Linked DNA regions of Homo sapiens: all the other regions are linked to region 1. The links are contacts of gene promoters, found by promoter capture Hi-C in blood cells and fetal thymus (Javierre and others, 2016). All regions are on one chromosome and are shown on one strand. The core of a region is centred on a gene start or on the middle of the fragment in contact, and the rest is flanking DNA. Distances in the headings are between cores, read along the strand shown.

Region 1 (3,825 bases), core at 554-3,053:
CCATTTATCTTGCTTGGCACACAAAGGCTCAATAAATGGAAGCCATTGTAATTTTCTTCCATTCCCATCTGAGTGAGGGCACTAAAAGCAGTAACTTAGGGGTATATGATCTCTCTCTCTGTAAAACATTCGTCTAACCCAACATCTTTAAAAAGCTAACATTCTACTTTTGGGAGGCCGAGGCGGGCAGATCACTAGGTCACGAGTTTGAGACCATCCTGACCAACATGGTGAAATCCCGTCTCCACTAAAAATACAAACATTAGCCAGGTGTGGTGGTGCCCGCCTGTAGTCCCAGCTACTTGGGAGGCTGAGGCAGGAGAATCGCTTGAACCCGGGAGGTGGAGGTTGCAGTGAACCAAGATCGTGCCATTGCATTCCAGCTTAGGCAAGACTCCGTCTCAAAAAAAAAAAAAAAAAAGCAAAGTTAACATTCTAGGCCAGGCGCGGTGGCTCACGCCTGTAACCCAGCACTTTGGGAGGCCGAGGCAGATGGATCACCTAAGGTCAGGAGTTTGAGACCAGTCTGACCAACATGGTGAAACCCCATCTCTGCTAAAATACAAAAATTAGCCGGGTGTGGTGGTGGGCGCCTGTAATCTCAGCTACTCAGGAGGCTGAGGCAGGAGAACAGCTTGAACCCAGGAGGCGGAGGTTGCTGAGCCGAGATTGCGCCAGTGCACTACAGCCTGGGCAACAAGAGTGAAACTCCATCTCAACAACAACAAAAAAGCTAACATTCTAGTTCAAAGAAAGCAACACATAGATGATGTAAATTACACATAAAAAACCATTCACTGAGGTTAAATGAAAATGTCTGCTGGAGTGTGCCAAGGGGACCTGAAAGGGCCTCCTCTGAGAGGGCATCGTGGGAGGGCTTCAAGGAGGGCGGGAGGGTGGCAGGGAGGCAGGGATGTCGCGCCTCGTCTGGTTCCTAATGTCTGAAGTTCTTTTGGTTCCCTGTTGTCTTTCACACCGCCGCCTCGGGCTCGCTTTTGCGCAGGGCCACGTGGCAAAGTTTTAGTTTAACCGCACGTCGGGCCCACTGTAAACGGTTAATAACCGCCTTCGTGGACCAGGCCTCTGCCCTCCATCTTTGTGCGGGCGGGAGGTGGGGCGGGGACGCCAGGTGTAGCGGACAAGCGGAGAGGCGGCGGGTAGATCCGGGCCCCCAACCCCAACAGTCAAGTTTTCAAAAAGCCCGCGCGTGGCGCCCCAGACCGCATCCGTTGGGAATGGCCCCCAGCGCGCCCCCTGCTCTCTCCCCGGCAAAGCCCTGGGCGGGAGAAGGCGCGGGGGTGGTAGGCCGGCTCTGCACGCCGGGGGCGCCGGGGCAAGCGCGCACCGGGGAGCGCGCCCGTCCAACAGCTGCCGAAAACGGAAGTGGGTGCGAGGGGATCACGGTGATTGGCTGAACTCAGATGTCTCTCAAGGGGCTGGCGCGAACGCCACTGCGGAGTTGGGCGAGGGGATGAGTAAAGGGGAGGGGGAGAAACACTGGGAACAGCCGCGGTGCTAGGAGGAAATGAATCGCGGTGGTGCGCGGAGGGCAGGGAGGGACCCATGTCAAGGGACAGTGGGGCGCTCGGGAATGAAAGTGGGCTGGCAGAAGCGGAAGCGGGAGCGGCACAGGCCGCGGGCTTGAATAGACCGCGGAGGGCGGGGAGTCCGTGATCTAGAGCGGCGCTGCGGCGCGGTAGGCGGGATTAAGGGGAGCGAGGCGGGGATTGGCTGGTAGCCCTAGGCTGCCGTACGTCGGCGGTGACGCACGCCTCGGGGAGGGTGCGCGCGCGTTCAGCGGCCTCTTTGTGTGGTGCCCAGATAGGGGAGCGGAGGTGGCGGCGGCGGCGGTAGCGGTGGCCTTGGTTGTCTTCCAGTCTCCTCGGCTCGCCCTTTAGCCGGCACCGCTCCCCTTCCCTCCCCCTTCCTCTCTTCCTTCCTTCCCTCCCCTTCCCTTTTTCCCTTCCCCGTCGGTGAGCGGCGGGGGTGGCTCCAGCAACGGCTGGGCCCAAGCTGTGTAGAGGCCTTAACCAACGATAACGGCGGCGACGGCGAAACCTCGGAGCTCGCAGGGCGGGGGCAAGGCCCGGGCCTTGGAGATGGAGAATTCTCAGTTGTGTAAGCTGTTCATCGGCGGCCTCAATGTGCAGACGAGTGAGTCGGGCCTGCGCGGCCACTTTGAGGCCTTTGGGACTCTGACGGACTGCGTGGTGGTGGTGAATCCCCAGACCAAGCGCTCCCGTTGCTTTGGCTTCGTGACCTACTCCAATGTGGAGGAGGCGGACGCCGCCATGGCCGCCTCGCCCCATGCCGTGGACGGCAACACTGTGGAGCTGAAGCGGGCGGTGTCCCGGGAGGATTCGGCGCGGCCCGGTGCCCACGCCAAGGTTAAGAAGCTCTTTGTCGGAGGCCTTAAAGGAGACGTGGCTGAGGGCGACCTGATCGAGCACTTCTCGCAGTTTGGCACCGTGGAAAAGGCCGAGATTATTGCCGACAAGCAGTCCGGCAAGAAGCGTGGATTCGGCTTCGTGTATTTCCAGAATCACGACGCGGCAGACAAGGCCGCGGTGGTCAAGTTCCATCCGATTCAGGGCCATCGCGTGGAGGTGAAGAAAGCAGTCCCCAAGGAGGATATCTACTCCGGTGGGGGTGGAGGCGGCTCCCGATCCTCCCGGGGCGGCCGAGGCGGCCGGGGGCGCGGCGGTGGTCGAGACCAGAACGGCCTTTCCAAGGGCGGCGGCGGCGGTTACAACAGCTACGGTGGTTACGGCGGCGGCGGAGGCGGCGGCTACAATGCCTACGGAGGCGGCGGCGGCGGTTCGTCCTACGGTGGGAGCGACTACGGTAACGGCTTCGGCGGCTTCGGCAGCTACAGCCAGCATCAGTCCTCCTATGGGCCCATGAAGAGCGGCGGCGGCGGCGGCGGTGGAGGCAGTAGCTGGGGCGGTCGCAGTAATAGTGGACCTTACAGAGGCGGCTATGGCGGTGGGGGTGGCTATGGAGGCAGCTCCTTCTAAAAGAAAATTTAAAATGCCTGGGAGTGGCTATAGGGGTAGCTCTTTCCAACAGCCCAAGTGGGGTCAACTCCTAAGCCCCACCCCCTCACACACACCGCCTTCCCTGTTTTGCCCTTGGGGGAGCCACTTCTAAGGCTGCTTACCCTTGGGGGTGTTCCTCTATTTGCCTGCCACCTCTCTTGTCTCTCCCTCTGAAGATGGACTCGGCCCCACATACACATTTTTGTGTTACAGTCATTGATGGACTCTATTTTTTTATTATTACTTGGACCTTGGTCGTTTTTATACTAGCAAAATGTCTTGTTTTAATTTGTGTTTTTTGGGGGGAGGGAGGGAGTGAACTTGCTGATTCTGTAGCAAAACCTGGGTGGGGGTTGGGGTGGGGGGTAGTTTACTTTGTTGTAAGGACTTGATAACCTGGCTACAGCGTTTTCTATGAAATCTACTTGGATCCCATGCCTGAAATTTGGAAGCATATGTACAAAAATCATTTTTACGTTTTATTTTTAATAAATCATTGTGTTTGACCGTACATGTCTAACATTTTTTTTCTAGGATCCATTCCGTACCGTTTTTTAAGGGATATTTGTTTAAGACTTTACGTGTTAATTCTTTATTCTTGATGTGTACTTAGAGAAACTTAAGAGGTCCTGTGGTTTTTTTCCCCTCTCCTGTTGCCCTGCTAGTTGCGTGTTGAATTATATCCCTTACAGGCAAAACTTTTGAAGTGGTGGATGTGGCTTTTTAAACTCTTAAGTTTCTGTGCATCCATCTCTTGTACTAAGCGAATTGTTTATCATCTTGACAT
Region 2 (3,825 bases), core at 516-3,015, 2.8 Mb before region 1:
CAGAAAGCTCCAACCATAGAACTCCACCGCCACACAAGGTCAGAGATGCCCCTAGCCCTGCCGGTTTCTCCAGCCTCATTTCCTAGCATGCTCCCCAACTACTGTAGCCAAATGGACCTCCTTTCACCCCTCATGTTTATAATGCTACTTCCTACCACAAGGCCTTTACATATGCTGTTCTGCCTGGAATGTTCTTTCCTCCCCTCTTCACCTACTTAACCACTACTTAAGATATTAGTTCATGTGCCATTCAGAAAAATTGTCCTTAGGGTGACTGAGAATAGGCCCTCAATAATCACTTGCTGAAGAAATCTCTACCATCCATTTAACACTCTCAAGAGCATGTTGGGCAATAAAGCCTAAGGCAGGGGTGGGGTGGGACAGTCCTTACCTGGCCCACTCCACTGTTGACTTCGTCTTCTACACGCCGCTGCAGGCTTTCCAGCTGGTTCTTGAGAAATGCCAGGTCCTTAAGCTTAGGCAGAGAATCCTAGGACAAGCGAGAGGCTGGCTCCAGCAGTCTGACTAAGCCCCACCCCTTGCTCAATTCCATCAGAAGCTGGGAATTGGGAGGGGATGGGGTGAGCCAGAAAGACCTTTTCCTATAAAAGCTTCCTGAGATGGCAGTGGCAAAGAAAGACAAGCATTGAAAAGCACAGAATTCAAATGAGGGCCAGGAAGGGACTGACAGATGGGATCTGAACCAGTAACTTACATCAACCTTGACAAGAATTTTATATAGCAAGCAGTATGTAGGAAAGGCAGGAGGGACAGCTAGGGACCTTTAATTAGGTCCATCAGGAAACCACTACTGACTCCATTATGAGCTCCTTGAAAGTCGTGACCAGTCTGTCTTGGCTACTATGTTCTAGTGCCTGACATTTAGTAAATGTGTGGGTAATGCTGAGCTTCTAGACCAATGGTGAGTAATGGACCGAGGCAGTTTCCTGGACAATTTTATTGTCTTGGTTCCTGGATGGGCTTTACCTCTTTCTTCCCAAGGACATCCCAAACTGAATGTGAGTGACTGGATGTGACTGAGAATGACAAAAAAGACTGTCGGCAAGTGTGTAAGTAAATGGACTGAGTGATTTTGATCGCATATAAGTATGAAATTCAGAATGTATGCAAAGGAGTGTTTGAATGAGGGTGGTGTGAGTGTCCGTGTGATTGGAAACATCGTGTCACTGGGAAGAAAATTTCGGGAGCTAGGGAATGGGGTAAAGTGAGGAGTGTTTAAGGGTGAATGTTTTTGAGTCTGTGCTAGTAACGGGTTCGTGATGGTTCCCAGGAGGGGACATCTGGGGGATCCACGGCTCCTCCCGCCTCGCCGAATGCTCTCCCCACACCACTCCACACTGTTGAGGCAGTTGACAGGAGCCGCAGAAGAAACAAGGGACATCCTCACTCCTGAGCCGCTCCAGAGTCGCTTCTCCCCGGAACTAAAAAGGTCAAGGAGAGTGAAGACCACGCCCGGCTGCAGATCACCCCCACGGCCACTCACCTTGTCATCCGCCATCTTCCCCGCCGAACTTGTTGCGCAGGCGCATCCCCGCCTCCCTCGTGCCGACTGCCCCGGCCATCTTTACGGAGGGCGAAGGCACTTCCGGAGCATTTTTGGAAAGGGGGAGGTGCTTTCCTAGTGGCCAAGTACGCCTCTCTCAGATACTTCCACGTGACCCCCTCCCGTCGAGTCTCAGGCTGCGTGTGAGCGCACTCACGACCGGGGCGCGATGATCTCACTCGTGCGCGAGTGCGCGCGGCGCATGTTCGGCGTGTCGGTCTTCAGGCGCCTGATGAGTTCATAGTTGGGCGGTGGTGTCAGCGGTTTCGCTGGCGTTCGTGGGCCTCCCCCGGACCCACACACGGAAACACGCAACCATTCGGGGATCCAGACGCCCGTTTACACGCACCACCCCTGGGCGGGCTGTGCGGCTCAGGCCCTCCCCCGGGACCGGCCCGTGTCCCGCCCCGTGTCCCGCCCCGTATTTGTGCGGCGCCAGCTGGCCCCGCAGCCTGCGGCGCAGAGAGGCTGGGCTTGCAGGCGCAGTAGCTCCAGAGGTCGCGCTGGGCTGAGAGTGCGGGCCGGCAGAGGCTGGCGGGGAGCAGCCGGGGTTATGCTGGGCAAGGATTACATGCTGGCCATCATTCTGGTCAACTGCGATGGTGTGCACGGAGGGGCCCGGTGGGAAGACCAGGAGCTGAGGGAGGACGAGGGAATCCGAAAGGCTACTCTGGGGCTCAAAGACGGTGGGGGATACCTCTCTGTGTAGGGACCAGGGGGCGAATGAACCCGGTCTTTACATGTGATGTCTTCAAGATTGAGGAGCCTGGATCTTCAGCCTAAGAACTGACCCATTTTGGGGATGGAGAGGGGATTATGACAGCATGTTATTCTGAACTCACAAATCATATGCTCCCTCCTCTCTAATCCGGTGTTCCTGTAGATGACTTGTGGGGGGACCACAGTCTGGAGGTGGAGGCTGGCCTGCCTCCTGGCTGGAGGAAGATCCACGATGCTGCAGGTACTTACTACTGGCATGTACCCAGCGGTAGCACCCAGTGGCAGCGCCCAACCTGGGAACTAGGAGATGCAGAGGACCCAGGCACGGTAGGTAGAGTGTGAGGAGGAGGTCTGAGCCCATGTGTGGACCTAGGTCTGCTGTTAAACTGACTAACTCCCACTCTACAGGGAACGGAGGGGATCTGGGGACTGCGGCCCCCCAAAGGGAGATCCTTCTCCAGCCTGGAGAGTTCACTGGACCGGAGGTAACGGGTGGCCCAGGCAAAATGAAAGGCTTGGGGTTCCATGGTGTTCAAAAATGCAGCTGGACCCATGGTCTGCTTTCCAGCCCAGGTTCTGGATTCTGTCACATGTTTTGGGTTCTGTTACGTTCTTGGCTCTGTCCCAGGTTCTTAACTGTCAGTATTTTGAGTTTTATCCCTTGTTCTAAGCTCTTGTTTGTAGCTACATGTTTTTCATATTCTTGGTCCTAACCTATCATGTTCTAGACCTTGGCCATTAAGTCCTCTGTTCTAGGGTCTCTTGTCCCACTTTGGGGTTCTGGTCCACATATTGGACCCTGTTCTATTTTGTGACTTTTATTTTTTATTTTTTGAGATGGAGTCTCACTCTGTCATCCAGGCTGGAGTGCAGTGGCACGATCTTGGCTCACTGCAACCTCCGCCTCCCAGGTTCAAGTCATTCTCCTGCCTCAGCCTCCTGAGTAGCTGAAACTACAGGCACATGCCACCATGCCCAGCTAATGTTTGTATTTTTAGTAGATATGGGGTTTCACCATGTTGGCCAGGATGGTCTCGATATCCTGACCTCATGATCCACCCGTCTCAGCCTCCCAAAGTGTTGGGATTACAGGCGTGAGCCACCACTGCACCTAGCCTTGTGACTTTTATTCTATGTCCTGTGTCTGGGTCCTATGTCCTGAATTTTCCCTCAAATTCTGAGTCACACTTTATGTTACGTTAATATGTCCTGGGCTCTACCCTGCTCTGGTTTTATATTTCTGGTGCTATATTCTGGGTCTTGCCCCTCATCCTGTGCTTATCAAGTTGTCTAGGCCTCACCAGTGTCCCTACTGTAGGAAATGTGGTCCTCTTAACAGCTCTGCTCTGTTTCAGTAACTCTCTGTCCTGGTATGGTGGGGAATCCTACATCCAGAGCATGGAGCCAGGGGCTAAGGTAGTGACTTGGGCCTGAGGGCATTGGGAGGTCCCAAGGGAAAGACAAGGGTGGGATTGGACTGAACAGAGGTGATCAAGGGTGAAGACAGGGAGTATGTATTGTGGCACCTGCCACCCTACTCC
Region 3 (3,825 bases), core at 419-2,918, 2.8 Mb after region 1:
AATATTGCCAGTCTACTAAGCAAAACTGATAATCATCAAATAATCACCCATACACATGCTCACATCAGTAATAAAAAACTGAATACCCCAAGAGAAAATGGGCACACAATCTATTCATGAAATAAACACCAAAGACAAACAAACTTCTCCAAATATGTTCTACAGCAATACCAATCAGGGAGATGCAAAGTAAAACCATTGTTTTTGTTTATAAAATTAGCAATGACTTAAATGTGATAAGATCTAATGCTGGCAACAGTGTAGTATGATTGAGCACTCTCAAAAACTGCCAGAGGCATAAAAACTGACCAGCTCTTTTGAAAAGCCTGAGAACCATTCATTCTCTGACCCAAGATAATATAACCTGAAATGAAATAACTTCAACTAAACATGTCTATCTCAGTATTTTTTCCAGCACTGAGAAGCTTGAAAACAACTTAAACATCTAACAAAAAGGACTGTGTAAGTAAATTATGGTATGTCCATCTTGTGAAATACAGGCACTAAAATATGTCTATGCATTTTTCAGGATTTAGAAAAATGTTTATGATCCATTTTTATATCTTTTGTTTTTGTGTGCAGCAAAACACAAAAACCAAAGATACAAAATTCTCTGTTCAAAATTATCTCACCTGTGCAAAAATCAGCAGTAGAAAAAATCAGCAGGAAATATGCCAAAATTTTAACAGTGTCTGTCTATGGATGGTGAGGTTATAGGTGATTCTTTTTCCTGTTTATTTCCATTTATCTGTGCTTTGCAATTTTTCTCAGAGTACGTATTACTGTTTCCCATTATATGTTACAAATGAAATGAACACATTCTCATAAGTTAAAAAAATATAGAATATATATTTTTCTTTTTCCTTTTCTTTTTTTTTTTTTCTGAGACAGAGTCTCGTTCTGTCACCCAGGCTGGAGTGCAGTGGTGCAATCTTGGCTCACTGCAACCTTCGCCCCCCAGGTTAAAGGGATTCTCCTGCCTCAGCATCCTGAGTAGCTGGGACAACAGGTGCACACCATCACTCCGGGCTAATCTGTGTATTTTTAGTAGAGATGGGGTTTCGCCACGTTGGCCAGGCTGGTCTCAAACTCCTGACCTCAAGTGATCCGCCCCAGCCTCTCAAAGTGCAGGGATTACAGGTGTGAGCCACCGTGCCCAGCCAGAATGTATATACTTTTCTAATATATCAAGATATGTAATTTTCATTATCTGATTTGAGATGGGGTCTATTATAAAAAAAGAGAAAAGCCTTCAGATTATCTAACAGTCAAACTGGTCAAACTGGTCATTCAAGTCTACAGGGCACATAAAGGTAATAGCATGCCAGCCTCACCAATCATAGAAACCAGATTGTCAAGGACATGCAACTTATTTTGGTAAGCAGACGAGTATCTGAGGGAAGAGGCTGAGAGAACACTGACACCCTGCCCTCACACTTCTACTAGCACATTTCTTAACAGGCAATGGAGATAGATAATATTTACTTAAATTTCTTGAATGTTGGGCAAAATCCCACCGATGTAGTGTCAACTGGTGAACTAGAAATGACTCTCGAGTGGCGCTGGTGACGGTGTTGAGACATTTTCCAAATTTTCAACTTTTATTCCTTGCTTTTAGCATCCAACAGAAAATCTCTGCTTAGGGATTTTCCTTAGCGTCTGGATTCTGAGAGGCAGCAGAGAAGGGGCCACGAAGGGAATCCTTGCTTTATGAGGTCACTCTTGGGCATTCTGTTGCATTACCAGTGTGTAGGCCCCTGAAGTGGGGAGCTCCCAAGTGGGTCTATCATGGATTCTCTCTTCCCAAGGAGACTGAGTGCCTCCATTCAGCAAAAAGGCTATGGGCACCCAGCAATCATGAGGCTCTGGGTTAAAGCTGGAAGTCACTAGAAACAGACCACACAAAGGCCCTCCCTTCAAGAAGTGCCCCCAGCTGATAGACACAGGCCCTTAATAATGTGTTAGAAAAAGTTAAGGGTCATATATAAGGGGGAAAAGCAAGTTCTCTGGGCTCTAAGAGAAAGAGAGCACATCCAGGGCACAGCACTGGAAAACACCTGGAAGGACAAGAAAAGATTGTGATGGGTTTGACTTAGAACAAAAGAAAACAAGAGAAGCAAAGAAGGTAATAGTGAGGTAGGGATAGTGGCTCACACTTATAATCCCAGCAACTTGGGAGGCTAAGGTGGGAGGATCACTTGAGGCCAGGAGTTTGAGATCAGCCTGAGCAACATAGTGAGACCCCCATCTCTAAAAAAAAAATAAGAAATAAAAATCAGCGACGAGGCATAGCGGCTCATGCCTGTAATCCCAGCACTTTGGGAGGCCAAGGCAGGCAGGTCGCTTGAGGTCAGGAGTTTAAGACTAGTCTGGCCAACATGGTGAAACCCCATCTCTTACTAAAAAAAAATACATAAATTAGCCGCGCATGGTGGCAGTTGCCTGTAATCTCAGCTACTCAGGAGGCTGAGGATGGAGAATCACTTGAACCCAGGAGGTGGAGACTGCAGTGAGCCAAGATCGTGCCATTGCACTCCAGCCTGGGCGACAAGAGCGAAACTCCATCTCCAAAAAAAAAAAAAAAGGAAATAAAAATTACCCATGGGAGGCTGAGGCAGCAAGATAACTTGAGCCCAGGAGTTCAGGACTAGCCTGAGCAAGATAGTGAGACTGTCTCTACAAAAAATAAAAATAAAAAAAATTAGGTGGGTGTGGTGGCATGCACCTGTAGTCCCAGCTACCAGAGAGGCCAAGGTAGGAGGATCACTTTAGTCCAGGCGTTGGAGGTTACAATGAGCTGTGATCACACCACTGCACTCCAGTCTGCATGATAGAATGAGACCCCATCTCTTAAAAAAAAAAAAAAAAAGAAAAAAAGAAAGGAGGCAATATAAACCCTGAGTTGGCTAACTGCAGGCATAGGATGGGATGTGCACATATAAACCACCTAAACAGAATATAAAGAGTGAGCACATGTGGCAGAGATGTTTTAAGTACAAAAGTAATAGGGATTTTTGCTCTGTTCAACTCTCAGGATTAATATATTCTCCCCACTCACCTTCTCCTAACTCCTTTGGCTTTCAGGGCAAATCAGGACAGTGGGATCTGGGTAGCCCTGTGTTGTATTAAATGCTCAGTGGCTAAATTGGTCAATCTCCTGGACACCAAAGTTCTTGGGCTGTAAGAAAAGGAAGTAACTACCCCACCATCTCTGCTGTCCCTGGTATTCTACAACAAGTATATATGACCATTCATGGTAGGAAAATACTTTGTGGGCAACCAATATACTGAACTGGGAAATAACATCTTACGTACTCATTTTCTCCATTTAAAATCATCAACAGCAAAGTTTTAAGAATCACTGTGATTAATGTCCCCACAATTCAAACTTTAGCCCCATCTTCTCCGTCTTCATTGTTTCCCTCAGGGATCAGCTCCTCCTATAACTCCTGCTATGTCCTTTAGTTATATGCCCCTAACGTCTCAGGGCTCCTGCCCAACATCCATCCACAGGGGCCTCCTGGGGCAGCTGCTCTAAGACAGCCCGCATCAGCTCTCCATCTGTTTCTACCTGCCCTGATATGTCACTGTGCTCAATCCCCTAGGGCACACAGAAGGCCCTCAGTAAGTGTGTGCCGTATGAATATACAAAATAATGGCATCAGGGATCCCTGTGCTCATTCACATAGCTAGGGACAACAGGATTTCATCTCCAGGAAACTCAGTAGTATACTTTTGTGACTTCTCTCTTTAAGCACCAAAGCATACTTTCAGGGAAAAACAAAAAAGAGATTAAAAATGTAAAGAATTCTTTCATGCTGCTTG
Region 4 (3,825 bases), core at 797-3,296, 2.5 Mb before region 1:
TTTTTTCCAGAATAATTTATTCACATCCAGTATCCATTTTGTATTTTTTTCCCGTGATGCACTGTGACAGGTGTTCTAGGTACAAGAGGTGGAAGAACCATTATTCCATAGTTCTTGATTTCAAGGAGCTTACAGTCTAAGAAAAATGTTTTCTAAAAAAAGGTAGACAGTGTTATATGCCTTGAGAGAGAAATAGATGTTGTGAGGGGAGTTCAGAGGAGAGATTATCTTTGCTCTGTGTGATGGGGGATGTAGTGCCCATTTGCTGGACTTTGAAAGACAAACAGGACGGCGATTAACACCAGTGATTTATTGAGTATCTACTTGTGTGCATGGAGCTATGTTTGGAGCTTTTTATCCTGATCTCATTTATTTCTCACAATAACCCTGTTAGGTCAATATGGTCACTCTCAAACATGAGAAGACTGAAGCTCATTAAAAATAGGTGGCAGATGCTGGACGTGGTGGCTTGCCTGTAATCCCAGCCCTTTGGGAGGCCGAGGCAGGCGGATCACTTGAGGCTGGGAGTTGGAGACCAGCCTGGGCAACACGGTGAAACCCGTCTCTACCAAAACTACAAAAATTAGCCGGGCGTGGTGGCAGGCGCCTGTAATCCCAGCTACTCGGGAGGCTGAGGCAGGAGAATCACTTGATCCTGGGAGGCAGAGGTTGCAGTGAGCCGAGATCGTGCCACTGCATTCCAGCCTGGGTGACAGAGCGAGACCCTGGCTCAAAAAAAAAAAAAAAAAAAAAATGTGGCCGGGTGCGGTGGCTCAAGCCTTTAATATCAAAGCACTACAGCACTTTGGGCGACCAAGGCGAGCGGATTGTTTGAGCTCAGGAGTTTGAGACCAGCTTGGGCAACAAGGTGAAAACCCGTCTGTACAAAAATATAAAAATTAGCTGAGTGTGGGTGGCGCGCGCCTGTAGTCCCAGCGCTACTCACGAGGCTGAGGTGGGAGGATCGCTTGAGCGCGGGAGGTAGAGGCTGGAGTGAGTCGTGATTGCACCATTGCACTCGAGCCTGGGTGACAGAGCAAGATCCTGTCTCAAGAAACAAACAAACGTACAAAAAAAAAAAAAAACCCCACAAAATATCCAAGTGACTTGCTTAAAGTCACACAATTAGTAAATGGAACCAGACATAGGCTAAAGGCAGACCAAGCCTTGAATCTAGATTAGGCTGGTTCCAAATTCCCTGCCCTTTCATCTCCCTAACAGTTTGTTTTCTTTCTCTCTTTCTTTCTTTTTTTAAAAAATAAAATAAATTTCCTAATTATTTATGTAGCACTTTCTCTTAGCATAACAGTTTTTAGAGTAGGTTAACTTTTTTTTCCATTTCCAAAAGTCAATTATTATCTATTCTGGTTCAAATGCCAGGTCCTTTTATGGCAGAGATTCTCAAAAAAGTGATCCGCGGAGGAGTTGCACCATTAGGTCACTGGGGTAGTCTGCAAAAGTGCAAATTTCCAGACCCCATTCTCAAAGATTCTGAGTACGTTTGAGATGAGACCCAGAGAACCTGCATTTTTTTGTTTTTAAACAAACGTATTCAGCCTCTCTTGAGAACCACTGTGCCTAGAATGTCTTTGGGAAGCTTTTGGAAGTAATAAGTTCGTTTTGGAAAGAACACTCCAGACAAGCTTTCCAATAGTCTTTCCCAAACTGTCATGCCTGAGGTTCTGGACTTACTCTTACTCATTCCTGAGAGCACAGCGACTAGCTGAAGGACTGATCGACTGATGAGGGTTTGACCTCATCTACATACATCTCAATTTAGCAGCACATATTAAGCTAGCTGGCAAACTGCTTAAAGCCACATGGGAAATCTGCGCGTTGGGCTATGTCTGGAAGATACGGAGGAGCAAGCCAGACCTGACCGGTCAGGTAGTGAAGACACGGAATCCGAAACCCAAATATTTCAGGAGTCAATTCTCAGAGAAAGATAAGAAGCCCGGTTAGTCCAACTCATGCGCAGGCGCAGAAGAAAGACCGGCGCACAAAGTAAGACGCGCCCTTCCCCACCCTATTTCAGTCCAACTCCCACTGCGCAGGCGCTTACAGTGCACCAAGATGGCCGCCCCCGTGGATCTAGAGCTGAAGAAGGTAAAAGAGGGTCTTTGGCAGGCGGAGGTCTTCTTTTTGGAGGCTGAGGGGACTATAGACAAGAATATCAAGTGAGGCACGAGCCTTGCAGAAGGAAGGAGGGTCCAGTGGACTAGGGAATGGTTTCCCAGAGTCCTAAGGCCTCACTGGGTCTCCATAAACGGGGTGGGGGGCGAGCGGCTCTTGCTGGGTAGGAGCCGGTTGGTCTGGGTCGGGTAAGTCTGCGGGCCTGTCTCGGGCTTGTCCAGTCTTTCTGAGCTCCAGAGACATTTCGTTGCGTTTGGAGGCTTCAGGGACTCACTTTCATAGTAAGAACTAAAGAGAGCATTTCAAATGGGGGTCCCTTCGGACCCCTTGCCTGAGCTGTGGCATCCGTAATTCTGCCTCATTTGCTTTGAAAAACTCCAAGTCCAACCTTTGTTTTTAGGCCATTTATTCGGTTCTGTACCTTGAAAGTTGCAATATCTACAGTTCGGAAAACCAAGCATTGTAGCAGCAATGTTCATTTCAGGATTTTGCCCCCCCTCCACTTCTTTTGAAGGACTCGTCAAACAAAACAAAACAAAACCTCCTTCTTTTGAAGGAATTGTCAAAAACAAAACAAAACCAGTAAAGTTTTCCAAATAAAACCGGTATCGGAAGGAATTGGGTTTCCTGTTTTCCTCAGTTGCTTATAAATGTGTTGTTATTCAGATTTTTGCTATCTAAGAATGATCAGCATTCTAACACCACTAATGACCCCAAACCAGTATGCTTTGTGCGGTGGGGTGGATTGGAAAGGACCCTAGAATTTATCTATTTTAAATCTACTTTTCTGGAAAAGGAACCAGTGCCAGAAAAGTCTGTCAGAAGTTGGGACTAGAATCCAGTATTCTCTGCCTTATCTCACACTTTTTTGACCACTATTTTGAGTTCTTCAGATGAGCAACATCTTAGTTAAGACTGCCTGTGGTCAACTTGTGTAAAAGAAATAGGACAGCCGAAATAGCTGTTGCTTCTAACAAATGAAGCTTTTGTTAGTGTTGTGAGGATATTATGTGTTTGTGTCTTGCTTTTGTTCTTCTTGTCTTGAATCTTGTAAATTTAGCTCTTAGGTGGAGTCTCTAATCTTTAACAGTATACTAGCTCATCTTTAATGGTATACTAGCTTCCTTAGCAAGCTGTATAGAGCAGTCAGATGATACCTGGAATTTTACATTTCAAAACAAAATTGTGCATTCTAAAAATTTACCTTTTCTTCTGTTAAAAGTACCGATTTAAATCAGGGTTTAGTGAATGGATTTGCCTCCCGGTACTTTTGAATTTATTGCTACATTTGAAACTTGCGGGCGGTGAATGCAAACTAAGAAAATGATTACAAACTTAAAATGAATAATTTTGATAACCAATTAATTAAAAAACTTGTTTAAAGGTTTTATCTTCTAATGTTTTTACAGGGTCCTTTTTTTGGGTGGAGACAAATAGGAAATTTCAGGCCCCTCCCCTTCCCCAAAGTAAATCTTTCAAAACCTTACTAGTAGGTGAAAACAAGGTCACAATAAAAATTATGTAGTAGCCTTTGCTGTGCATTGCAGTCACAGATGTTATTAAGGCACAAATTTAACAGCATGTGAAAGTCATTCCAGGCACTTCAACAAAAGTATCCAAGAACTGTTTATCTTCCAGTTAAGTAAGTGTACGCAAGGGTCAAATTTGGCCTGGTATCTGTGGATGAAGATC
Region 5 (3,825 bases), core at 550-3,049, 2.4 Mb before region 1:
CGCCATTCTCCTGCCTCAGCCTCCCGTGTAGCTGGGATTACAGGCGCCCGCCACCACGCCCGGCTTATTTTTTATATTTTTAGTAGAGACGGGGTTTCACCGTGTTAGTCAGGATGGTCTCGATCTCCTGACCTCGTGATCCGTCCGCCTCGGCCTCCCAAAGTGCTGGGATTACAGGTGTGAGCCACCGCACCAGGCCAGGTCTAGAGATCTTTGATCTACAATCAACAAATAGTATGGGACTCCTTTCAGCGAATCCAATGCCCCACATGAATGTTTGGATGCTGGTTCTCCTTTAATAACTTCCCCCTATTAAATCTCTTACCAGTCATTTGGGGTTTGGGTTTCACCCTAGGGATACAAGGTGTTTGTAAGTCACTCTGAAACCTCTGAAGGGCAAAGTGTTGTGGACGCTATAATCTCCCTGCATACTGAGGGGGGCATAGCTCCCAACCAGTCATTAAATCCCGTCAAATGAGATACTCGAAAATGAGCTGCCCTTGGGTGGGTCCTTTCATAAAAAGGAATTTTTAAAAATCTGCTAACATGGTTACTCCACAAAGTTTACATGTATCATATTGTATAAATCTATAAATATGTACAATTATTTTTTGTTTAATTTCTAAAAATTTGCCAACAATGGCTGAAAAAGGCACCTGGCTGCCTGAGCCCCTACCCTTGTCGGTTACAAGTATTTCATAAGCAGGGTTTGAGGAATCCCATCAGAGAAGAGTGTTGTCACCTTTTTGCCGGAATGTCACACCAACTTCCTCAGTGTTCCCCTCACACCAACTTCCTCAGTGTTCCCCCTACCCCAATCTAGCCAACGTTTCAATGGCTCCCCACAGCACACAGTGCCTCTCAGGTGGGCACTCAAGGGTCCTTTCCTAATCCTCCCTAACCTAATTCTCCAAACTTTTTTTCCCCCAAAACAGCCCAGCAGACGGTCCAGTCAGTCCCCAAATCGTTTTTCCTCATGGTCTCCTTCCCCAGGGGTCCTCCCCTCCTTCTCTCCCCCCTGCAACCTCCACTGCTACCGGGAGATTAGTTCCCACCCGTCAGGACCCCGCTCAGATTTCACTTCCTCCAACAGGTCCGCTCAGATCCCAATCCACGGCTCTCAACAGCAGCCGGGATTCCTTTCCCCCGCAACGCCTTCTCTGAACACCCCGGCCTCCGAGCGCCGGCTTTGCGTTCCCTAGTTACTTCCAGTCACTAGTTACTTCCGCTCCGCTCCCACCCGCGGGACTCGCGACCTGCCCCCTGCCCCCGGCTGGCCCAGCTCGGAATAGGCAGAGCAGCGCCTCAGAAATCGCAGCCCAAGGCGAAGAAATCCAGAAGCCTCCCGCGGACGTCCCCCGGGACGGGGTGTGGCGAGCCCCGCTCCGAGCCCGCCGACTCCTCGTGAGACGAGAACCGCAGCGACGCGGAGACCCTGTGAGTCCACCGCCGAGACGCGCGGCGCGGCGACCAGGAGCCCCAGAGTAGCCGCGGGGCGCCGGGAGGGATCCAGCTGGCGGCAGCAGCTTCCCTGCCTCCCTGCCCCTCCCCAGGGGCTGCGCGAACCCCTGCCTGAGCCAGGCCAGCCCGGGTGCCCCCCAGTTCTCAGGGCGCTCCCCAGGGAGCCCGGGGACGCGCCCTGTCCGTGCCTGATCCCCGCCCTGGTCCCAGCTGGGTCGGGCCAGGTCCGCTGCACCTCACCTCTCCTCTCCACGAACCGACTGGATAACGGTCGGGTCTGAACCTGAGGAGCCCGGACCAGCCCGCAGTAGACTTGCCGCACCTGTCTCAGAGCAAGTGAGGAGCAGCCGGGCGCCTGACGTCACGGCCGCTCCCAGCGCCGCGAACCGGGAGTCACCTGATCACCCTGGCAACGCGCGCGGCGCGGGGCGAGGCGAGGCTTGCGTCACAGCACGAGCCCCGCCCCCAACTGCTCGGCCTCCAAGCGCCGCCGGAAGCGCTCTCTTGCAGTCGGCGCAGTCGGGAGGCGGGGTCGGTCTCCGACTTCCCAACGTGGGCCTCCCAGCTGCGCTGGATACTTAGGACTCCCACAGGCGTCCCCCTCAGATTGGATTGGTTCTCCGAGACTCCACCCGATACCCCAACTCCGCTAGTTCAGGCGCCTGGGAGGCAAGACCAGCGTCCATGCGGAACCCTGCTCAGTGCGTGGCATGAGGGGTCGGCTGTGGGCTGCTGCCTCCTCGTGTCTTGTTGGTCCAGACCCAACTAGGGTTGGGGGCTTACTTCCCGAGCTGTACCTGAGCGGAATGGGGCTGAGGCTGATAACTGGATTGCTCTCTGGCTACTTTTCCCCATAAACCTTGCAACAAGTAGTCCCGCCAGTACTTTAGAGTGTAATGAGACTTCATTCACATCAGGAGGGGGAAGGGGGACAGAATCTTCTGTCCTGAAGGTTTCCTTCTTCTGTTCCAACAGGAAGAGAAGTTACCGAAAAGCTCCCAGAGCAAGGCCTAGAATGAGCTTGCAAGTCCTACTTGCAAAAAATTTTTTATTTTTCATTTTAGAAATTGATTTTCTCTCCATATTCCTCCCCTTGCTTGCTATTAGGTTGGTGCAAAAGTAATTGTGGTTTTTGCATTTTTTTTTTAAATGGCAAAAACAGCAATTACTTTTGCACCACTCTAATATAAGTATATGCCTACAACTTTTGTTACTCTCTAGGCTTCCCAGATAAGACTATCAGCTTCGAAATGAAAATTTAACATCCCCTGGAGGTCTCAGTGTGAGAGTCACTGCCTATTTCACACCTTCACTATTTGCTGACTTTCATTTCAGTTTTACTCTCCTCATCCCTGCACTGCCAAGAAGGTTTCATATGTATTGAAACCTTCCCTCTCAAGAGTTTAGGATCTTAGACCAAGAAGTTAGTTTATAGTCAACTTCTTGTGAGCATCTTTTAGTGTCAGGCAATGGGCCATGGGCAGATTGAGATGTGGTTCTCGAAGATCAAACGTGTATGGGTGGTATGTCTCACATAAGTACAACTTGTACTGTTTATTATGACTTAATCATTGTATTTAAGTGGCACTTTTTAATTTTCACACTTAAAGAAACTCATATAAGTGGGAAAGAAGACAGCTGTGAAAGGTAGAGAAGAACCATGGCTCTAGACAGAGCTGTACTAATAGGAGAGAAGAGATTGAAAATGTGAGCCCAGGTCCCAAGGAGCACAGAGGCATGGTCAGAAGGTTGGTAGGAACAGGACAGAGGCAGCCAGGCCTGAGGTGTTTGGCAGATCTGAGGAGGGCAGGGATAGAGGGTGAGGGGAGGAGTGGGGCCAGAATGAGGCTTGAGGGATTCAATGGAGGGCGAAAGTGCTGGGAAGGGAGGAGGGATTGGAAAGAAAGGAGAAGTATGCAGTGGTTTGGGAAGGAGTTGCTGAAAGGGAGGGCAGGGTAAATAGAGACCCAGGAAAGGGTGCTAAGAGCATTAAGAGAAGGGAGGCTGAGAGGCTACAAAAAAGGACTGAGGGGGAGGAAGAAGCAGGTGGGAGACTCTGGGGCAGCAAACATCTCAGAACCAGTCAGTAGGTGGTGTCCTTCAGAGGCTGTTGGAGAAGAGCAGCATTGTCTGTTTGCCTCTGAAGAGTGAAGGTGATCCATGCACACCCCAAACTACCTCTGGACCATCTGAGGGTAAGAGCCACCCTTTGCAGAGCACTAATGCAGAGGGAAGAGCAGAAACAGGCACGTCCATAACTACACCCTGATAGTACTCAAGGCAGTCAGGCTTTTTGGCTGGACAGTTTTTCAGGCCTGTGGTACATGCCTCCGTGCCTCTAATCTGGGCAGGGCAAGGTGAGGA
Region 6 (3,825 bases), core at 596-3,095, 2.4 Mb before region 1:
CACATAGATTAACATTTGTTGGTTAATAAAATATCGACAGTATTACAATCTTACAATATTTACAGTAAGAAAAATCTAGAGTAATATATACCTTTCACAGCAGGATTCCTTTTTTTAAAATTTCTTCCAGTTTGGGATTGTGTATACACAAAAAGCTCAAAATAAAGCAACTCTGCAATATAATCTTAAAATAATGGCTACTGGGGGAAATTCTATCACAACCATTGAAAATAATGGTGACTTCTCACGGAGTCTGTGGCATCTGAGAACCCAGTTAATTAACCAAAGTCTTGCTCATATTAGCCTCAGTTACCCAGATTAAAGCAGAACTCCGGCCTTCCCTGACTGCTGAAAACCCAACAGATTTTCTCAACATGCTATAAGGAAAGAGGAAAAATTGGTTTCAGCTCACACCTCATGGCTGGAAGCCTCTGGAAGCCTCCAGCCAGTGCACACTCCCCAACTTATGCTAAAAGAGGGCCAATTTCATCCCCACAGCATCACAAGAGTCCACCCTCCAACCACACAGTGCTCTGACACCAAGCTCACCCATTCCTCAACTCTTGTGCCTTAGGATAACACATGAACTTAGCCCACATAATACACACCAGCGTCTTAGAGACTTGAGACCAGGGCAAAGAAACAGACTAGTGTAGTTTGCACTGAGATCAGTAAGAAAAATGGGAAGTGATGCACATTTCCAATTAGAATGACAAGAAGAAGACCCACATCCCTAAACTGGAATTTGGCCAGGGCATCAGAGTTAGCACCCCCTCTCTGAGTACCGCTAGCGATTAGGATGTGTGCTCTGGGCCTCCTCTAAAAGAGAGCATCTACAGTAAGTAACACAGTATGGGACATTAGTTCAGTGACGACTGCCAAGAAAGCAGATACAATTCTTGAATCTGGGGCTGTCTACGGCACCTGAGGTCAATCATCCAAGCTGTGACCTGTCCCAACCCTGCTTACTTTAAGATATCTGATGGGCACAGAGCACTCAGGGATATGGCTGCTGGCTACTTTGGACTCTAGATCTCACAGGTAATCAACAGGTATCTGGGATTGAATTAGCAAACTGTACCATAGCTCCTTAAACAGACATTGTCAAGTCTGAAATCATGTCAAGCATGAATCTTCACTGTCAGGTCAGTAATCAAAGTGGGAGTCTTCCCACATCAGCCAAGGTTATTTTGTCAGAACCTTAGAGGAGTTGGACAGTTTTTCATGTTGCAAGTGATTGGTTTACTTATTTCAGTCAAGCTGGATTGGCAAACCAGACTGATTTATTTAGTGAGCTTTGTTTTTTTGATTCTTATGTGTGTGCTAACCCAAAGCTGTTGTATTTGGGCTAAATACACTGACAGAGAAAATTCAAACGACAAAAGTTTTCAGCAAACTTCTGTGGCATTTTTTCTTTTTGGAAGTAAATGCAAGATCTAAAGGTATTTCTACCCAACAACGTCTGTTTAAGTGTTTAATGTTATTTCCTTTTTGGTCCTATACAGAATGCTATGACTTCTATATAGGTCTGAATGCTGCTCCATGTAGATTCCTTCTGTATATCTAAAAATATATACTTTTCAGTAGTTCAATACATGGTTAATCTTCCCACAGAGGAAGATTTTTGTAATCACATGTTGCAAAGTAGAAAACATCTCCTTTCTAAGAAAGGAAATATACTTTCCTATTGTACACTTTTGAATAAGCCCAAAGGCATGCACCAAAAATCATTAATAAAACTAATACATGCAATAAAATGGTGTAGAGTTAGACTTAAAGTGCTGCTTCTCAATTTTTTTTAATTTGAAGAAGACATTTTGTCAGTTGTAGACTCAAAAATCTTTCCCCCACCCACCCTCCCCACCCCATGGCATTAAGAGAGAAAAGTAAAAAGTATGCATAAATCTTTTAACTATGCTTTACATGGGGGAAAGAACAGATGTATCAACTATCCTATATATCAACTGGATTCCCAGTTTTAAATAAAACCAATATTTACTGGTAAAAATTGTCAAAGCGAATACACGCAAACAAATGTTACTAGTAAATAAATGTTCTACATAGAGAATAATTTACTTTGGTTTTATGCGCCTTCTCAAAAATAACACTAGTGTCCCAACGTCACCAAACTGATGTGTTCCAGCAAAGTTGTAAGGCAAATCTTTTTTTCCCTAGTGACATCTTGTTTCCCAACAGACAAAACTAAAATCTTTTGGTGAGGAAGGGGTTAAGATAATGGCTAACCCCTTGGCATCCTGAGCATTGTGGTTTATCAAACTCTACCCTGCTAGAAATTGTCAGGCACCCTGACCCCTGCCTTGAACCAGGAAGGCTCCCATGTCTAGAGATGCCCTGACTCCTTATAAATAGCTTTCAGAACTTTGCTTTTTTCCCTTCTCTCTGGTTGTTATAATGTCTAACGAAGCTGGTTGCAATGTCACATTTTGCTAGTAGGGGCCACCATCTAACAATAATTCCAATATGAAAGGTTTTAAGCCAATAGTTGGTTCCTAATTTTATCAACGATTTGCACTAAAATTCTCTACAATTTACTTAGAGCAGAGATCTTTAACTTGGGTTTCAGAAGATGTGTGATGCCCCTGAAGTTGTATGCAAAATTATCCAGGGATGGGCATTTTTTTTTTCTTGGGTAGAGGATCCATCACACTGTCATCAGATTATCAAAGATATCTGTGACCCCCAAAAAGGGTTATAGGGACTTAGAGGGATACCCGTAATTCATTTTATACCAGGACTGGGAAATGGGGGCAGAAAACTAAAAATGGCCTCGAAAAAGGCCAGGGACAAATTGCTGATCTTTTCCCTTTATTCACATTGGGAAAATAAGTGCTTCAAACTGGAAAAATCATTAATTAAGCTGGTTAAACTCCATTAAAAAATAATCAAATCGCTTTCTAAATTTTTTTCATTTTCGATATGTGGTAAATTTTGTCTCCAAGAAAAGGTTTGGAGACTGAATTTTTCTCTTTTCCTAAAGGAAATTCATAGATAGAATGCTGAATATCATCCACATTTAAAGATTTGACAACATAAAAGTTAGATAACTCTTAATGATGTGAATCTTTAACTTATGATTTTGAGTAAAGGATTATCTAGAATCAAATATACACTTATTAATCTTCATTTCCCAAAATTGGTCCATATTTAGACAACTACCTGGCACAATTTCACTAGATAAACCTAAAATCTGAACAATGGAAGTTAAACTTCTACCCAAAGTAAAAACAAAGCCATAAGATTCCACAATTGAATTGGCCACAAACATTCACACTATGTTATAAAGGACTTTCTCATTTCAAATACATCACTGAATGTTCAACAGAATTTGCAAACATAAGATCCAGAATGACTAGCAAAACATGCTAAGAGCATGTCAAAAAGTAAAACACCACCTCTCCCCCCCCAATCTGGAAACACACTCAGGCATTCCAAAAATAAACCAGATCTGAAAAGAGGCCTCTCACTTGGTTTTAAGTATGAGGTGTGTACAAAGCTATGGGAAAGGGAATATAAAATGAAATAACCAAATAACTTACAAAAAATAATTTTAGCCAAAAACACATCTCTCTGTTCCATTGATAAAACTATCAATTTTTAAATTTTTTTGCAATTCTGAACACTGTGTTGCATAATATCACCAAGACAAAAAATATGTTCACAGGTACACTTTTTGTTATTTTCTTTCTAGAGCACATCTTTGAGGTCATAAGACCGCATCTGGTTAAAATAAAGTCTCTTGCCCTTGCTTCCCTTCCCCCTCAAAGTGATTCAACCCTGAATTCCAAAAAGGAATATTCAATATAA
Region 7 (3,825 bases), core at 533-3,032, 2.4 Mb before region 1:
CTCAAATAAATCTTAACATTTAACAACAACAATGACTAATAGTAACAGCATTTCCCAGATCGTTCTTTAAAAGCGTATTCCTTTTCCATAGCTCACTTAATCTTGAAAATCATGCCTCTTCAATGCTATTTTAATGTTTCGGATTAAAGATATGAAGTAAACATTTAATATATGAAGAGAACAATCCACTTGATAAAAATCCTCGCATTTCCAAAATGTTTTCATTTTAAGCATTTGCAGAAGTTAAATAAATGTAGCAGACATTCTAAATTCGATAAAAAATTCAGAGAACCCGACATTTTATGTACCCCAAAGGTCCAAACAGAACCGATGTAAATGTCAATAGCTGTCTCCCTTCCGGCTGATACTTAAATGGTTTTACTAGTACTCAAAGCAATGAAATCAGCAACTCTCTCTCCACACTCTAGTCAACACTCCAATTTCCAAAGCCGCAATTCGCAAACGTCAGTTGGGCGGGGGCGGTGGGGGATCTTGAAGTAATCCAAAAATTTCCTTTCCCCTTTGACAGTCCACCAAAAGATGTCAAACCAAATCCAGCCTATTGTAAAGCTCTGGGACCTCCCTTCCAAGGACACCGAACACAAGCTTAGACACCGCTGCGAAAAGCTGTCCAAAAGCGCCTGGCCGGACAGAAATGTAAGGAGCCCAGGCCAAAACGAATTAGAACCCCCAACAGAGGGTCCCGCAGACACCGCGGAAAAGAAGGTGGCATTTATTCCGGGGTAGACAGCTACGAACCAGTTACCCCAGCCAGTCTCTGGGGGCTCTCCAACCCAAGTTCAGGTTTATGGCAGATATATTGGTTGGGTGCCTTCCCCTACAAACATCACAGCCCGCCTCCGGGGCCCACCGCCGCTCACAGAGAAGACCCCTCAGCTTCACATCCGTTCCTTTTGCCCTCGGACAAAGGCAGAGGAGCTGTGGAGCTGACCCAGCGCTGTGGGGCAGTAAAAATGCCTTGTTCGGGCCACCCATCTTTGGGCCCGGCTTCATCTGCGATGTCAGCACCAAAGGTTTTTTTTTTTTTTTTCCTGGTTTTGTTTTGTTTTTACAACGCATCCTGGGCGGGTGTATGCATTTGGTGGTAGTGGGGTGGGGGGAACCGAACAGAGGAGGGGTTGGCAGTGAAGCCTGGGTTATAGAACTCTCCTTCCTCTCCCTCCTTCCAGGGTTGCCGTGCAGGGAGTGTCAGCCACGTCTAGCGCACAGTCCCAGGCCCCAGGGCGAAGGCGGCCAGGGGAAATGGGGCTCAGGGATTGCTAAGCAAACGCATCACTGGTGGTCTCCAGCGCCTGCGGAGGTAGGATCGCCTCTTTTCTTAAGGGGCGTGTTATTTTGTTCTCTTTTGAAAGTAGGAGGGGGTTCATTCGTTTCTCGCTGCGGGGGGTGGGAGAGAACGTTGCTGCACCGCCTGGGTCTCCAAGAGGGAGGGTGCGGGGATGTCTGCAATGGTACTATAATTATTCCTGGGCTGAGAGAGCAAGTAAAGGGGACGGGGCGAGCGTCACCTGGAGCTGTGGCAGTGGCAGCAGGGAAGGTCGCGAGGGGCTTACCCGGGCGGGCGGGCGCTGTCCTGCCGCAGGTGAGGGAGGGCGCAGGCTGGCGGGAGGGAGGGCGCGCGCGAGACAGGCGCGAGGAAGGGGGGAGGGGAGGAGGGCGCGCGCGCGCACACCTGTCCTGGACAGCGGCGCTAGCCGAGCTGCGCCTCACTTAGGCTCTGCGGGCTGAGGAGGAAGGAGGGCGGGCTGGCGGGCGGGGGCGGGACGCCGAGGGGAGGAGGAGGAGGCGGCTCGGATGGCTGGCTCGGCTCTCGCTCGCTCTCCCTCCCATGGGCAAGTCCGGCTCACACCCTGCTTCTCCCGCTCACTCACAGCCCCCTTGGCTCTCCCTCCTCCTCCTCCTTCCCCTGCGGGATCCGCTCGCCGCCGCCGCCGCCGCCGCAGACGGCAAGTCGTGGCAGCCAGACGTCGGCGCGTAACCCGGCGCTCCGTGCGTGACTCCAGGCGACGTCAGCGCGCGCTCCGCGTTCCCCACCCCTCCTCCCAACTCCGTGGCTCGCGCCCTTCGCTCTCGCGTCCCTCCGTTTTAGCTGCCGCCGCGGCGGCCGCCGAGCGCGCTCTTTCCGCCCCCTTCTCGCGCGTGAGCGCGCCCTATCGGCTCCTGGCGCGTCAACATTCCGCGGGCCAGGCCTTGGGGCGCGTCTGAGGAGGGGGATGTCTGTGGCCTCTCCGCCCACACTTCCTCCACCCACCGCCCACAGCGCCCCAGAAGGACCTATTACTCGTTTGGCTTCTGAAGGCCGAAGCCAGGCTCTGGCGGGGATAGAACCCTGAAGGGCCTGCGCCAGCTCCAACTTAGGGCCCTGTGCGTCGTTGCGACTTCTGCTACCACCCTATCACGCGGCACCCCCGCCCCAACTCCGCCCGGGTCTCTGAAGAGGCAATAGGCCTTTCATCTCCGGGGAAAGTCTCACCTTGGCCCTCAGACACCCGCCAAGAGGGGTCGGAAGGACAGAATTAGCATAGAGAAGAGTGGCTAGAGCACTTTTCAGGCTCTGGCCCCAGGAATCCTTGACAGGAAGCGTGGGGTTGCTGCCCAGCCTCCCACGCAGTGTAATATGTTGAAGCCGGGCCCCTTTGAGGGAATGCGACTTCCTTGGGCCGAGGGGGAAAGGGTAAAAGTTAATTTTCATAAAATGCTATGCAAGGGCTAAATGTGAAATTATAAAATGTCCTTTAAGACAGTCTTCTTGAAATCGTATCAAGTTTGACAAGATTTTTGGTGCACGGTAACGCTTTTGCTCGCTTTCTACGCTGTCACGTCTCCATCCTGCAACACTGAATACGTAGATGGAACGTGGATCAGCTAATAACTGCAGCAAAATAAAAACTGCATTTATCATCTTTATCATTATTTAAATAGACCTCCGAGAAGTCAAACTGTGATTTAGGAAAACTTAATCATTGCCTCAACCTATTTAACTATTTTGTTTTGAAGTTACTTTGCAAATATACCACAAAATCCCTCTTTGTTAGGCAGTGGTAGACTTTTAAACTCACTTGTTAGAGAATCTTTCCCAGAAGCATATCTAGTTGAGCCTGCGAGGCAAGTAGGACTAAGGTATAATTACTCCCATTTTACAGATGAAAATTTAGTTATCAAAATGTAAGTCAGTTGTTCAGCATTGTGAGGAGTCTATCACTGATAAAGGGAAAACTCTAAGGTCTATTATTGCCTGCTTTATTCACTAAACCAGAAATCTCTCAATTGTTTTTTTCCAAGTATCTTTTGCTGCCTCTTACGTATTGTAGGCAGTGCCTGATGGCTGAGAAGAATCGCAGAGGACTAGAAAAGGTTTGAGTCTGAAATTATCTGGCACAGAGGATTAAAGCTCAGAAATAAGTGATTGCGAAACAGTTCAACTTCCCTGTTAATGACAACAACAACAGCAACACGCTTATTAATTCCTAGCTGGAGGTGAGAAAATGAGACTGGCTTAAGGGTGATGGGTCATTTCCTTTGAATTGCTTCTTTATATTCACCTCATCTTTAGGTGGCAGCACTACTATATAAATATCCTTCGAAGTACAGTCTTCTGCATCTTAATATCCTAAAGGATATTCTGTCCTAAATGTTTCCAACTGTATTGTGGAGATTAGAAACTGGTGATTTAATGATCTAAAATCATAGCTGAGAATTAGAAAACTTGGAGGTTCTAGAGGAGGAAAAACAAAGGCTATCAGACACATTAATAAAATACATGGAGCTACGGAGGGAAAACATTAGAAAGTTTCAAGAAAAAAG

The links. Contacts are between HindIII fragments. The CHiCAGO score rates a contact against its expected background, and 5 or more counts as called.
Region 2: the fragment with the promoter of APBB3 here is called in contact with the fragment with the promoter of HNRNPA0 in region 1 in 9 of 17 cell types (naive CD8 T cells, total CD4 T cells, fetal thymus and 6 more); the score reaches 21.9 in naive CD8 T cells.
Region 3: the fragment with the promoter of CATSPER3 here is called in contact with the fragment with the promoter of HNRNPA0 in region 1 in 1 of 17 cell types (naive CD4 T cells); the score reaches 5.6 in naive CD4 T cells.
Region 4: the fragment with the promoter of PFDN1 here is called in contact with the fragment with the promoter of HNRNPA0 in region 1 in 6 of 17 cell types (fetal thymus, total B cells, naive B cells and 3 more); the score reaches 22.9 in fetal thymus.
Region 5: the fragment with the promoter of CYSTM1 here is called in contact with the fragment with the promoter of HNRNPA0 in region 1 in 9 of 17 cell types (total CD4 T cells, naive CD8 T cells, activated CD4 T cells and 6 more); the score reaches 15.0 in total CD4 T cells.
Region 6: the fragment with the promoter of IGIP here is called in contact with the fragment with the promoter of HNRNPA0 in region 1 in 3 of 17 cell types (naive CD8 T cells, total CD8 T cells and fetal thymus); the score reaches 9.9 in naive CD8 T cells.
Region 7: a contact is called between the fragment with the promoter of MALINC1 here and the fragment with the promoter of HNRNPA0 in region 1, in 10 of 17 cell types (total CD4 T cells, naive CD8 T cells, activated CD4 T cells and 7 more). The highest score is 20.9, in total CD4 T cells.

The regions. Positions count from the first base shown.
Region 1 is chr5:137,752,341-137,756,165 of GRCh38, reverse strand. It overlaps HNRNPA0 (heterogeneous nuclear ribonucleoprotein A0), which reads left to right and starts at 1,803. Exons shown (of 1, transcript NM_006805.4): 1 at 1,803-3,825. The coding sequence starts at 2,100. The coding sequence ends at 3,017. RefSeq lists a silencer at 1,084-1,443 and enhancers at 1,071-1,762, 2,024-2,373, 2,884-3,043, 2,453-3,144. The HindIII fragment of the contact is 5,253 bases long and covers 1-3,825 here.
Region 2 is chr5:140,562,538-140,566,362 of GRCh38, reverse strand. It overlaps APBB3 (amyloid beta precursor protein binding family B member 3), which reads left to right and starts at 1,765. Exons shown (of 13, transcript NM_133173.3): 1 at 1,765-2,166; 2 at 2,448-2,611; 3 at 2,693-2,769; 4 at 3,640-3,700. The coding sequence starts at 2,118. It overlaps SLC35A4 (solute carrier family 35 member A4), which reads right to left and starts at 1,535. Exons shown (of 3, transcript NM_080670.4): 1 at 1,505-1,535; 2 at 392-490. It overlaps LOC131768270 (SLC35A4 upstream open reading frame protein), which reads right to left and starts at 1,535. Exons shown (of 3, transcript NM_001394034.2): 1 at 1,505-1,535; 2 at 392-490. The coding sequence starts at 1,519. MIR6831 (microRNA 6831) reads left to right here and starts at 2,612; the gene lies at 2,612-2,692. RefSeq lists enhancers at 1,458-1,577, 1,333-1,939, 2,548-2,607 and a silencer at 1,898-2,077. The HindIII fragment of the contact is 4,216 bases long and covers 614-3,825 here.
Region 3 is chr5:134,965,750-134,969,574 of GRCh38, reverse strand. It overlaps CATSPER3 (cation channel sperm associated 3), which reads right to left and starts at 1,668. Exons shown (of 8, transcript NM_178019.3): 1 at 1,486-1,668. The coding sequence starts at 1,583. The HindIII fragment of the contact is 4,293 bases long and covers 428-3,825 here.
Region 4 is chr5:140,301,322-140,305,146 of GRCh38, reverse strand. It overlaps PFDN1 (prefoldin subunit 1), which reads left to right and starts at 2,046. Exons shown (of 4, transcript NM_002622.5): 1 at 2,046-2,106. The coding sequence starts at 2,074. RefSeq lists a silencer at 1,937-2,141 and an enhancer at 2,030-2,309. The HindIII fragment of the contact is 1,473 bases long and covers 1,646-3,118 here.
Region 5 is chr5:140,173,162-140,176,986 of GRCh38, reverse strand. It overlaps CYSTM1 (cysteine rich transmembrane module containing 1), which reads right to left and starts at 1,799. Exons shown (of 3, transcript NM_032412.4): 1 at 1,702-1,799. RefSeq lists a silencer at 1,412-1,701 and an enhancer at 1,992-2,221. The HindIII fragment of the contact is 7,638 bases long and covers 1-3,825 here.
Region 6 is chr5:140,123,957-140,127,781 of GRCh38, reverse strand. It overlaps IGIP (IgA inducing protein), which reads right to left and starts at 1,845. Exons shown (of 1, transcript NM_001007189.2): 1 at 1-1,845. It overlaps PURA (purine rich element binding protein A), which reads right to left. Exons shown (of 1, transcript NM_005859.5): 1 at 2,163-3,825. The HindIII fragment of the contact is 9,298 bases long and covers 1-3,825 here.
Region 7 is chr5:140,105,969-140,109,793 of GRCh38, reverse strand. MALINC1 (mitosis associated long intergenic non-coding RNA 1) reads left to right here and starts at 1,782. Exons shown (of 4, transcript NR_102741.1): 1 at 1,782-2,385; 2 at 3,304-3,498. LOC124900193 reads left to right here and starts at 525. Exons shown (of 4, transcript XM_047417990.1): 1 at 525-2,010; 2 at 3,333-3,498. The coding sequence starts at 809. The coding sequence ends at 1,735. RefSeq lists enhancers at 971-1,472, 2,583-2,682 and silencers at 1,623-1,882, 1,893-1,952, 1,983-2,052. The HindIII fragment of the contact is 3,432 bases long and covers 609-3,825 here.